2 separate regions of the Homo sapiens genome follow, and region 1 is linked to region 2. The links are contacts of gene promoters, found by promoter capture Hi-C in human tissues and cell types (Jung and others, 2019). All regions are on one chromosome and are shown on one strand. The core of a region is centred on a gene start or on the middle of the fragment in contact, and the rest is flanking DNA. Distances in the headings are between cores, read along the strand shown.

Region 1 (5,469 bases), core at 1,586-4,085, 160 kb before region 2:
AAGGCAAAGAGGTTTTGGGAATCAGGGTGTAAAGGAATTGTGGAAAAAAGCATCCTTTAGGTATAGAACAGGAAAATGGGTGGTATTGGAGGGAATTGCAGAAAGTAAAGTATATGGGTTAGGAACTACTGGACATACTGGGAGTACAGCTTGGTTAATGAGCCTGAGGTCCTGGACTAAGTGATAAGTTCCATCTGGCTTTTAAACAGGTAGAACTGGTGTGTTAAAAGGAGAGTTTCTTGGGTGGAGTAGGTGACTGGTGAGGCGGCGAGAAATGATAGGCTTTAGGCCTATGAGAGCTGCTTGGGGGATGGGATACTGCTTCTGTGATAGGAACTGGGTGGACTCTTTAAGGGTAATGCGGACGGGGGTGTGGTGTTTTGCGACTGAAGGTGTGGAAATATTCTAAACAGCGGGGTTAACTACGGATGGGGGATAAGGTAAAGTTGCATGTTTTAAGGTGGCAGGTTGGAGGAGTAGAAGAAAGTTAGATGCCCCGAGGGGTCTGGGTTGATGCGTTGGGTACTATGGGGAATGTGCAAGTGGAGAGTAGTGTGGAGTTTTGAAAGGATGTCTCTGGTATGAGGGCAGGACTAAGAAAGGGTGACTGAAGGAAAAGGTGTGCAGGGAGCAGAAAAGTGGAGGGGTGGCTCAGGGTTTGGAGTCTTGTCTGTCAATTCCCACAACGGAGAAAAGGGAGGACTGGGTGTGTCCTGAAAAATTAGGTAAAGCAGAGTAGTTTGCCCGGTATTAATTAAAAAAAAAATACTGGCCTACCTGCCACCATCAGGGTTACCCTTGGCTCGGATGAAGCGATGGTAGTTGCCGGGGCATCCATTCCAGGGCACCATCAATCTTCAGCGGCAAGGCCAATGAGATCCAAGTAGGAGGTTTTGGCCGGCTTAGGAAGTGATGGGGCCGCCCTTGCAGGGGCCGCTCACAGTCCAATTTCCATTGGGGTCCTCTGCAGAGGGGGCATGGCCTGGTGGGCTTACCTGGATTTGGGCATTGTCTGGACCAGTGGCCTTCATTGCCGCACTTGAAAAGGTGCCAAGTGGAGGTAGGTTGCTAGGAGGCTTCCGTGTGGAGCTGCGGACCCGTGGGCCTGCAGGGCCCCTGATGGCGGAGGCAAGCATTTGAAACTCCGCCTGTTTTTGCCTTTTACTTTCCCTATCACGATTGTTAAAGACTATGAAGGCTAAATTAAGACGGTCTTGTGAGGTTTGAGGGCCATCATCAAGCTTCTGAAGCTTGCACCGAATATCGGGGGTGGATTGGGAGATGAACCGAAGGTTTAAGATAATGGTTCGTTCTGAGGGTTTGAAGGGGGAAGGAGGGTTAACAGGCAGTGGAGGATAGGCAGGGGCGTAAGGTGGCGGGATGAGTTTACAAGCTTTAGGAGAGGGCAGTGGGGGAGGAGAATGGGTACAGGCAATACTAGAATTGTCCCGAGGAGGGGATGGTGTAGGAAAAGAAGTGGATACAGCTGACTGGGAAGATGGCAGCTGGGAAGATGGCAGCTGAGAAGACAACGAGGAGGCTTGGGGGGTTAAAAAAGATGGTTGAGAGGAAAAGGTAGGGGTTGGGAGGGGTGGATAGCAGTCAGTTGGATCGAACGAGAAAAATGAGGTAGGGTCGGGAGGAGAAAGGCGATCAGGGCGGTGAGAATGGAGGGGAAGGATTTGAACAGGTAAGCAAGAATTGCAGAGGTTGGGTTGTGAACTGAGTGCAAAAAGGCCTGGACATAAGGAATTTCTTCCCATTTTTCCAGTCGTCGGCAATAATTGCTTAAGTCAGTTAAAATTGTAAAGTTGAATGTTCTATTTGCAGGCCATTTGGACCCATTATTTAATTTGTACTGTGGCCAGGCTGTATTGCAAAAAAGACAGGTACTTAGAGCGAATATCTTGCCTGAGGCCTAAGGTTTGCAGGTTTTTTATGAAGCAGCCTAGAGGGCTGTTGTTTGGAATGGAGGACCGGAGTTTCCCATAACAGAGGGTAGGCTCAGGAGAACAGGGAAAAAGGAGACCATCCTGGAGGGAGATGATAAAAGGAGCAACTGTCACCGCTGCCTTTTTCGTTCCTGGAACACGATCAAATGGCTTAGAGGCATCCCCCTAAGACCAGATGATCAGCGAGTGCCTGGCACACGCCGGCGCCTTCTTGGACCAACACTGGATATTCGGACCAGAGAAACTAAGAGAGGCCGTGTGAATTTTCCCTGCTAACTGGGCCCCTGAGGAAACTTACCAGTAAGCAAGATCAGTGACCAATGTGCATGCACAGAGAGGCAACTGGAGATCGAGGAGCTTCCTTTGTCTGGCTGCTGTGGCCTGCTGTCTGGGGTGGAGGGGTAGGTTCACAGGGGACGTGGACCAGAACCTCTCCCGGGTTTCAGCACCAGATGTACGGTTCTTGTATCGGTTGGAACCCTGAGAGCGCACCAACAGACAACATGAGGTGGTGAGGAGCAACATGCTGTTTTGATGAGCGCGTGGGTGCAGGTGGGCTGAGGCCTAAAATGGCATCAGCCCCAAGTGAGGATGGGACAAAGGTTTTATAGTCTCCTGTAAACAGGAAGTGTCCTAGTCTGACATAATTGCTCTGTTGTACCTGGATGGCCTCTTTCTCAATCTTCAGGGGTACGTATTTTCCGGCCGGCTCTCTTCCTGCTTCTGCTATCTTGCTGGTGCACACTGCTGGTACAAGTAGCCTTGTGCCTTGGGACTGGGCCTGAGAAGGGATGAGTTGTTCATCTCCTTAAGCTTTCAGGTCCCAGGGAGAATCTTACACTATTCATCCCTGCTCTGAGATGTCAGGGAAATCTACAGGTGTCTTCTGAAATCCAAAGTCCATTCTAAGCTTGTTTTATAAGAGCGACACACAATAAGTAATGGTGAGTGAGTTTCTCCTTGTGGTCATTAACTTTTGTAGCAATACTGAAACCGCCTTTGCAAAATTATAACTGAGGAAATTATGACAATGAAAGAAATCAGACCTAACTGACTCCATCTTGCTTCTAACCTGTAAGCTGCCCTTGTTCATTCCTGGGCATAGGCCGAACTATGGGAAGGAATTCAGTTCATGGTTTGACTCTGAAACAAAATTGATAATAGCCCTTTCCCAAAAAGACTCCCTTCTTGCCTGGGGACCAGTCTGCCTTTGCAGGACCAACAAATTAGCTACAAGATTAGAAATTACAGTTTATGGGTCATGCAGCCTCTGGCTCCAAGAGCCTGAACCTCCCAAATTGCTCCTGGGGATAACATCGCTATTGTAAAACCTAACATCAGTTCTTGAGATATTTTGCAGACCCTGCACTGGATGGATCAGCTGACATTACCCAGACGGGTAATTGGGCTCAACCAGTTCTGCCATCCCACCCAGTGACAGAAAACAGCAAGGAAAGCTCACTTTGCCCCCTATGAGTCCAACTCCAAACTGACCAATCAGCACACTCCCCACTTCCCAAGCCCCTACCCACCAAATTATCTAAAAACTCTGATCCCTGAATGCTCGGGGAGACTGATTTGAGTAATAATAAAACTCCGGTTTCCACACAGCTGGCTCTGCAATTCCCCATTGTTATTCCCCATTGTAATTCCCCTGTCTTGATAAATCAGCTCTGTCTAGGTAGCACGCAAGGTGAACCCATTCGGTGGTTACAATTCTTTATTATGAAGTTTAAATCTTTTGAAAATACTGTGCCTCAAATAGGTGCCAGCAAAAACATGAAAGTGATTCTGTATATCTTAAGATGATGTTTCAGAATTTCACTATATAGTAAGAATTTGAAGACTTTCTTTACCTGTGACCTGTATAGCCATATTGTCCCTGGGAATACAATGTGATATACAGAATATTCTGCAGCAAGTTTTCATGAGATTTCTTTATCACTTGGTAAGGTAATGAGAACTCCAATTGCCTTATTTTGAAAAATCATAAAATCAAAAGAATTCTGGTCTTGAAGGAAAAAATGGCAAGTTTTACTGCTGGGTTTACCTTGTGTAATCATAGTACGAAAAGAAGGAAAACCTTAAACAAAAAAACAATAATGTTATAGAGTTTATTTGAACAAAGAAAATTCATGAATCAGGCAGCACTCAGAACCAGAAGTTGAGAGAGCTCCATTCTGCAATATGGGCAATGAGTATAGACAAAACAGGAAAGTGAAGTACAGAAATAGCTTGGTTGGTTATAGCTAGGCATCTGCCTTATTTGGACATGGTCTGATCAGTTGATCAGGTTTCAATTTCATTACTTACTAAGGAAGATCGCATAGCAATGGAATTACAGAGACATCCCTGGGCAAAATTTAAGTTAACAATGGACAAGTCATTTAGCTGGCTGTGCTTTTATTTCCTCATTTGTTGAATTTGTTTTTGTTTTTGTTTTTTTCTTAGCAAAAAACAAAAATAGGTCTATTGTAAGAGTCAGATAATACAATGCTTGTTATGATGTCATTTAAATCATAAGGTCAAATACAGGTATAGGGTGACGATTTTGGTATTTGGTAATGATGTGCTATAATGATTTCCTAGCCAGTATATACTGCATTTACTCTAAAAGATGAATGGTGACTCACCAGGAAAAATAATCTATAGAATTTTTGTATAATGTGCCTCTATTGTTGTTTAGAAAAGCAATCTATAGATAGGCTGAATTTGAATTCTGGTCTTCTGTTTTGCTTAAATGTTTCCTTTCTTTGTTTTAGTTGCTGATTGTTGGAGGTTCTTTTGGTCTTCGTGAGTTTTCTCAAATCCGATATGATGCTGTGAAGAGTAAAGTAAGAAATATAATTAGAGTTTGACATGTGTCTGTCTATATGTATGTTCTGGTTTAGGAGAATTGTATACTCAGTATACTAAGTAGTCTGAGTTTGTCTTGCTTTTCAACACTAAGATGTGATCTTTGTTTTTTTCTTTAAAATAACATTAGTGATCACATGGCAGTGAATCATGAAATGTAACTAATTTCGTAATCTTTCTTTTTTTCTTTTGCCACGGGGTCTCACTCTGTCGCTCAGACTGGAGTGCAGTGGCCTATCCTGGTTCACTGCAACCTCTGCCTCCCAGGCTCAAGCAATTCTCTTGTCTCAGCCTCCCGAGTAGCTGAGATTACAGGTGTGCGCCACTACCACCCGGCTAATTTTTGTATTTTTAGTAGAGATGGGGTTTCACTATGTTGGCCAGGCTGGTCTTGAACTCCTGACCTCAAATGATCCACCCGCCTTGGCCTTCCAAAGTGTTGGGATTACAGGTGTGAGCCACTGTGCCCAGTCTAGTAATCTTTCTTATTTCATTAGGAAATTTGCAATGTTGTTAGCATTCTCCCACAAAATATGATCTGATGTAGCTGTTTTTAGAATTTAGAAGGGATTAAAAAACAGAGGTCAATAATTTTGCTTTATTTTATTTCTCTTAATTTAATATTAATATCAGTAATTGTATAAAGTATATTGATATGTAT
Region 2 (5,559 bases), core at 3,025-5,524:
ACTTGACTGCTGTTGTTTCTCAACTGCTATCAGATTGTATAGTCCAAGGGCTGTGGAATGCTGGCACCTAGGTTGCTTGTGAGAAGAGACACTGTGGCTTGTGTGGGATGCAGTGCCACTGGTGGCCAGGACTGGCAGGTCGTCTGCTTATGAAGTGCCTGAGGCCCCGCTTTTGGAGAGGCACTGACTTGTGGAGTTCTGCAGCATAATGGCAAATACTGGGGCCCCACCAAGAAGCCATGTGGTCCCTTCCCACTATTCATCCCATCTGCCCTATTACTTGCTGCTCAGCCTCTAGAGAAAGGGTATTCTATGACAAGGACTCACAGAATTAGGGCTACTATGACAAAATACCAAAGACTGAGTGGCTTAACTAACAGAAATTATTTTCTCATAGTTCTGGAGCCTAGAACTCCCACATCAAGGTGTCAGCACATTTGATTTCTCTCTCCTTGGCTTGCCTTCTCGCTGTGTCCTCACAAGGTTGTCCCTCTGTCTGTCTGTGTCCTAATCTCCTCTTCTTATAAGGATAGCAGTCATAGTGGATTAGGGCCCACACTGACGGCACTGTTTTAATTTTATTACCTTTTTAAAGACCCTGTCTCAAAACCCAGGCACATTCTGGGTACTAAGGGCTAGGGCTTCAACACACAAGTTTTGGGACACACAATTCAGTCCATAAAAGAGTCTGTCTAGTTCTTACCAAGCTCTGTGACTGGGCTGAATCCTGTAGCTTCTCGGGTCCTGAGTTTCTTCCCAACTTGAAAATGAGGTTTGTGGCTCTTGCTCCCAATGCTGATGTTACACAGCTTACTTTCCATCTTCCTTGTGAACATCTCCTTGGGTTCCAGTACAGCTAGATATAAGTAACAATGGCAGAAATGCAAGTACGGTGTCATTACATTTAATGTTTTCCAACCCTGTATGCATGTAGTGGGGAGAAAAAAAGAAGTGAGAATGTCCAGAGTTGAAAGCAGTCTGAGACTTCATAGGCCACGTGAAGGTTGGCTGTAGAACTTAAGATGGGAGAGAAGCAGGGTTGGGGGAGAACAAAAGTAGGGGAGAAGGAGAATTGATATATATTTGGGGATTGGTCTGTACCAGAAACTGTAATCTCACTGAAGCTTCACAACAACCTCACGAGGTGGGTATTATTATTATTAATAATAATAATTAATAATAATAATAATAATTATTATTATTATTAATAATAATAATTATTATTATTCCCATTTTACTGGTGAGGACACTGAGGCTCAGAATGCAGAGCTGGGCTTTGCTATTTCAGTCTACCTAGAACTCAGAGGAACCTACGCAAGTCAGCTCTGCCGACAGCGTTGGTTGAACATGCTTTGGCACCTCTTGCCTTCCTCCCCGCAGCATTGCCCTGTCACAGGTGACAAGAGGAAGACAAGGTTCCTGTCTGTTTTGTTTGGTAGTTCTAAAAAAATGACATGACCAATTCTGTTGTTGTTGCTGGTTCAGTTTTAGTGAATAGGTAATGTTCACTGAAAATATATCAATAGATATTAACAAGCAAACAAATAAAATTCTGGCACAAGCAAAACTAAGCCACAGTGACAGAAAGCAGATCAATAGTTGCCTGTGGGAAGAGCGGATGAGTATAAAGGGGCCTGAGAGGACTTCTGGGGGAGATGAAAATGTTCTATGTCTTGACTGAGGTTGTTGCTCTACATGTATGTACTTGTATAAAAACTCTTCAAACTATACACTTAAAACAGGTGAGTTTTTAGTAGTAGTAGTGATGTTTGGATACCTGTAACTTTATCTCCATTAGAAATGTCAGATATTTTAATATCATCAGTTAGTTTTTGCAGGTATCTTGAAATATTATTCATGTTCCTCACTACTGGGATAGTTTTGCAGATTCATGTTCCTCACTACTGAGATAGTCATTTAGCCTGTGCACTAGACCTTGCTTTTGATGCCTTCATAAAGCATAGATCAGAAAAAAGGTGAGTTGTTGTATGTAAATTACACCTCAATAAAGTTGATTGATACAAAGAGAAACAAAATCACCAGAAATCCCACCACCAAGAGATAACCACTACCATTTTGGGGTTTTTATGCTGCCAGGGCATTCATCCCCACCCCGCCACCCCCGCACATGCTGTGTTACACTGTGTTCTGGGGTTTTTTTTCTCTCTGTCTACGATATATTATAAAAACCTTTCCACACCAGTACACAGAATGCTGCATCTGTATTTTTACAGTGGTAGAATACAGCATTATGTCAACAAAACATGTTTACTTCACCAATTTGTTGTGTTGGAAAATTAAGATGTTTCCAATTTTTCACTCTTAAAAACACTACCATGAATATCCTTGTAACTAAATATTTGAGCATATCCTTAATGATTGCCATAGAATAAATTTCTTCCAGTAAAATTACTGGGTCACAGGCATTCACGTTTTTAAGGAATTTGATGTATCTTTCAAAATTGCCCTACCTAAAAACTCTATCAATTTAGGTGCCCATTAGCCATCTCTTTGTCTCTACTGTAGACTCTCAATGTGTAGACTCAGCATTGTGACTCTCCACGGGAGCAGACACAAGGTAAGTCCCAGTAACTGACATATCCTGAGATCCCACAACTTTAGAAGCTATTGAAACCTTTCAAAGTCAGTCCCAGCCCTAACTTTAAATGAAATTCAAGACCCATAAAGGTTCAGGGGTCTGAAAGCACTCCTACTGCTCCTACTGAGCACATCCAGGATTCTGACTCCGGACTCAGGCCAGAAACCACCACACAGCTTGCTAACGGAACACTGAGTCAAAGGACCAGCAAAGACCTCCTGCCATCTCAGGCTTAGAGATTCCCTAGTCTCTACACCCCCTTAATCTGTTTGAACCAAGCCTTGCTCCAGAGCAGCCGGGCAAAGGAGCCAGGGATCTCAGGAGTCACACACACTGTTGACGTCTCAGCACAACTCCGGTTGGTTGCATTTTATTTCAATCCTTGGCTCTGCTGCACGTGGCCTTGGGATGGTTATTTAACCTAAGGCTCAATTTCCTCAACAAAAAAATGGAGTTGGTAATTGTACCTAGCTCACAGAGTTTTAGTAGGATGGCATGAGGTAATACAATCAAATTCACTAGCACCACTCCTGGCCCTTAAAAGGTGCTGCTATTTGGTAAGTATTATTATCATTTGTTGGCCCCTCACACTTAGCCTCAGGCAGCAGAGAGGCCTGAAAGAGAACAACTTCCTGCCCTTACATTCTGACTTTTCTGCACTGGTGTCGCTACAGAAGGCCAGCCACCAGGCTCATTTTAGATCTGCCTAATGCCACCGATAAGCTGAGGGCTTGAAACCCCATTCTTAGGAGTGGCTTGCCCACCCCGCATGCCTCTAGGACCAAGCCTGACAAATATAGCAGAAATTACAGGCATCTGATTTAAGGCTACGTGTGTACACTTCGCCTGAGCCAAGCCCCAAGCCCTAGTCCCGCTGCTGCATCAAAGGACCAGCTCTCTTCCAGCCTCCAGGCCCAGAGTAAGCAGCAATTTGGGAGGCAGCCCCCTCTTATTTTTAGCTTTAGAAACCCGAAAAGCCAACATACCAGAGCTCACCCAAGCGTCTCTCACAAACTGTTGTTTGACTTGGGTTGAGAAAATGACAGGCTGGGTTCTGCACCAAGAAGAGAAGAAAAAAAGAGGGGGAAAAAAGGAGTTTTCTTTTCCCTCCGCTGCCAATCTCCATCCCCCTCAACTCCTCCCCTAGGCCTGGGTGGACCCTGCCTGGGTAATAGTTCCCTGCTATATTTAAAAACCACAGATGTGTTTGGTGGAGACTTAATTTCGGAATTGCAGGCAGCGTCTCCTGAGGACAAGGGGAAAGCCGGTGCCGCGCGCCCGCCTGCTGCCTGGAGCTCCCAACTCGGCGGAATCCAGGTCAGGACGCGCCGCCGTTTTGACGTGCTGCCGGCCGGGAGGCGCGGGCGCCAGGCTCCAACGACTAGGGTGGGTGGCCGCGGGGCAGGGGTTGGATCTGAATTCGTCCCTCGGGGGCTCTGGATGCGGGATGCGGGATGCGGGATGCGGGCTCGACTTCCTCGCTGCTGGTCGAGGAGCGTTCTGAGAGTCTCCCCTCCGCGCGCGAGGATAAATATGCGCGGCTTGTCAGTCAGTGCGGCGCTGTCTCCCAGCTGATAGGGTGACGTTCCGTTTGGAGGCTTGGAGATTGGCTTTTTGATTTGGCTTCTTCCGGCAGCTTAATGGGCAAAGCTCTCCGCTCGCCCAGAAACCAGCCTCTCCGCGCGTCCCCTCTGCGCGCGGCGAGGCCGAGACGTCTCCCGCGGTGACAGCGTGCAAGGCGGAGACCCGGCGCGCTCCCAGCCCAGGGAAAGCCCAGGCGACGCGACCGCAAGCCCGAGCCCAGGTCCCTCGGAGCCGCCAGGGCGCGCCGGGCTGCTTGCCTTCCTGCCCCTTCCTGCAGGAATCCCCCGCCGCCCGCGGCCGGGACTCCGGGCCTCTCCCGGGCGTAGATTCCAGTCACCGCTCTGGGTCGGGGTTTCCCTCTTTCTGAAATCCGTGCGGAAGGACCCCTCCCGGGGCCCCTCGCCCTGGCCCCAGACACCCTCCCTCCCAGACCCCGCGCTCCAGATGCGCTGCCCCGCAGCTCCCTGACAGCTGCGAGCCCACGAACCCCGGCGGGAGGGCGGCGGCGGCGGACTGACATGCCCCGGACGCGGCTGCGGCCGGCGGGCAGCCCGCGGGGGCGATGAGCCGCTGCGACCGGTGAGGCGCCGGGCGGCGGGGGCATCGCGTACCTTCCTCACCCCCCTCCCTTGCCCACTCCGCTCGGGAGGCCGAGAGGAAACGGTGAGTAATGGGGTGAGCCTCCTGCCCTTCCCCCTTAGCGGGCAGCCGAGACATGGGAGGTAGAGGTTGGGGGGCTTGGGATGCCCCTAAGAGGATCCCTGATTGTGAGTAACGGGGTTAAGTTATTTCTCAAGATCATTCATATGAACCGCCTTCCTGTGGATTTAGTGCCAGGAGAAGTGGGGTGAGGGTGCCCCGGAAAGTGTACATTGTGTATGCAGTGTTGGGGGGGCAGATCTGGCAGAGTGGGTGTCTACAGGAGGGTGCCGCCGGGTGGGGAGGGGCAGAGAGAGATGCCTGGGCAGGTGGGTACAGTTGGATCGTGAGCATGCTGGGTTGGTAGCGGGTGCTGTTTGGGGAGACTGACTGCTGTGTTGTGTGTGCTGGATGCATGTCGGCATATGTGTGCCACCTGGGCCAGGGCGTGTTGTGCTTCTGGTGCTGTGAGTGTCCGCCGGGTTTGGGGGCTAGCAGGGAAGCGCGTTATCCACTCGGCGCGCGCCCGCGTGCACATACGCACGCACGCGCTCACCCCAATCTCGGGACTCCACCGCCGCGGGTCGGGAGCTGCAGCCCCAGAGCACCCACCGCTGGGGCCAAGGGGGCGAGGGAGAAGGAGGGTTTCTCCAGTGCTGCACTCTCCAGCCCCTGGTGGTCTGCGTGATCCGGGACTCGGTGGAGAGAATCGAAATATATAACTAACCCTCCCCCGA

What was found. Contacts are between HindIII fragments. The study calls those that stand out against the background at their distance.
Region 1: a contact is called between a fragment that was not itself captured here and the fragment with the promoter of SLC8A3 in region 2, in 1 of the 25 tissues and cell types used here (pancreas).

What each region holds. Positions count from the first base shown.
Region 1 is chr14:70,341,975-70,347,443 of GRCh38, reverse strand. All of the region lies in intron 3 of SYNJ2BP-COX16 (SYNJ2BP-COX16 readthrough), which reads left to right. It overlaps COX16 (cytochrome c oxidase assembly factor COX16), which reads left to right. Exons shown (of 4, transcript NM_016468.7): 2 at 4,715-4,786. It overlaps LOC124903340 (a long non-coding RNA gene), which reads right to left and starts at 2,309. Exons shown (of 2, transcript XR_007064238.1): 1 at 2,251-2,309; 2 at 1-1,116. The HindIII fragment of the contact is 3,026 bases long and covers 1,323-4,348 here.
Region 2 is chr14:70,187,666-70,193,224 of GRCh38, reverse strand. SLC8A3 (solute carrier family 8 member A3) reads left to right here and starts at 4,274. Exons shown (of 7, transcript NM_182932.3): 1 at 4,274-4,846. It also overlaps the pseudogene LOC646548. RefSeq lists silencers at 4,300-4,629, 4,700-4,839. The HindIII fragment of the contact is 13,926 bases long and covers 1-5,559 here.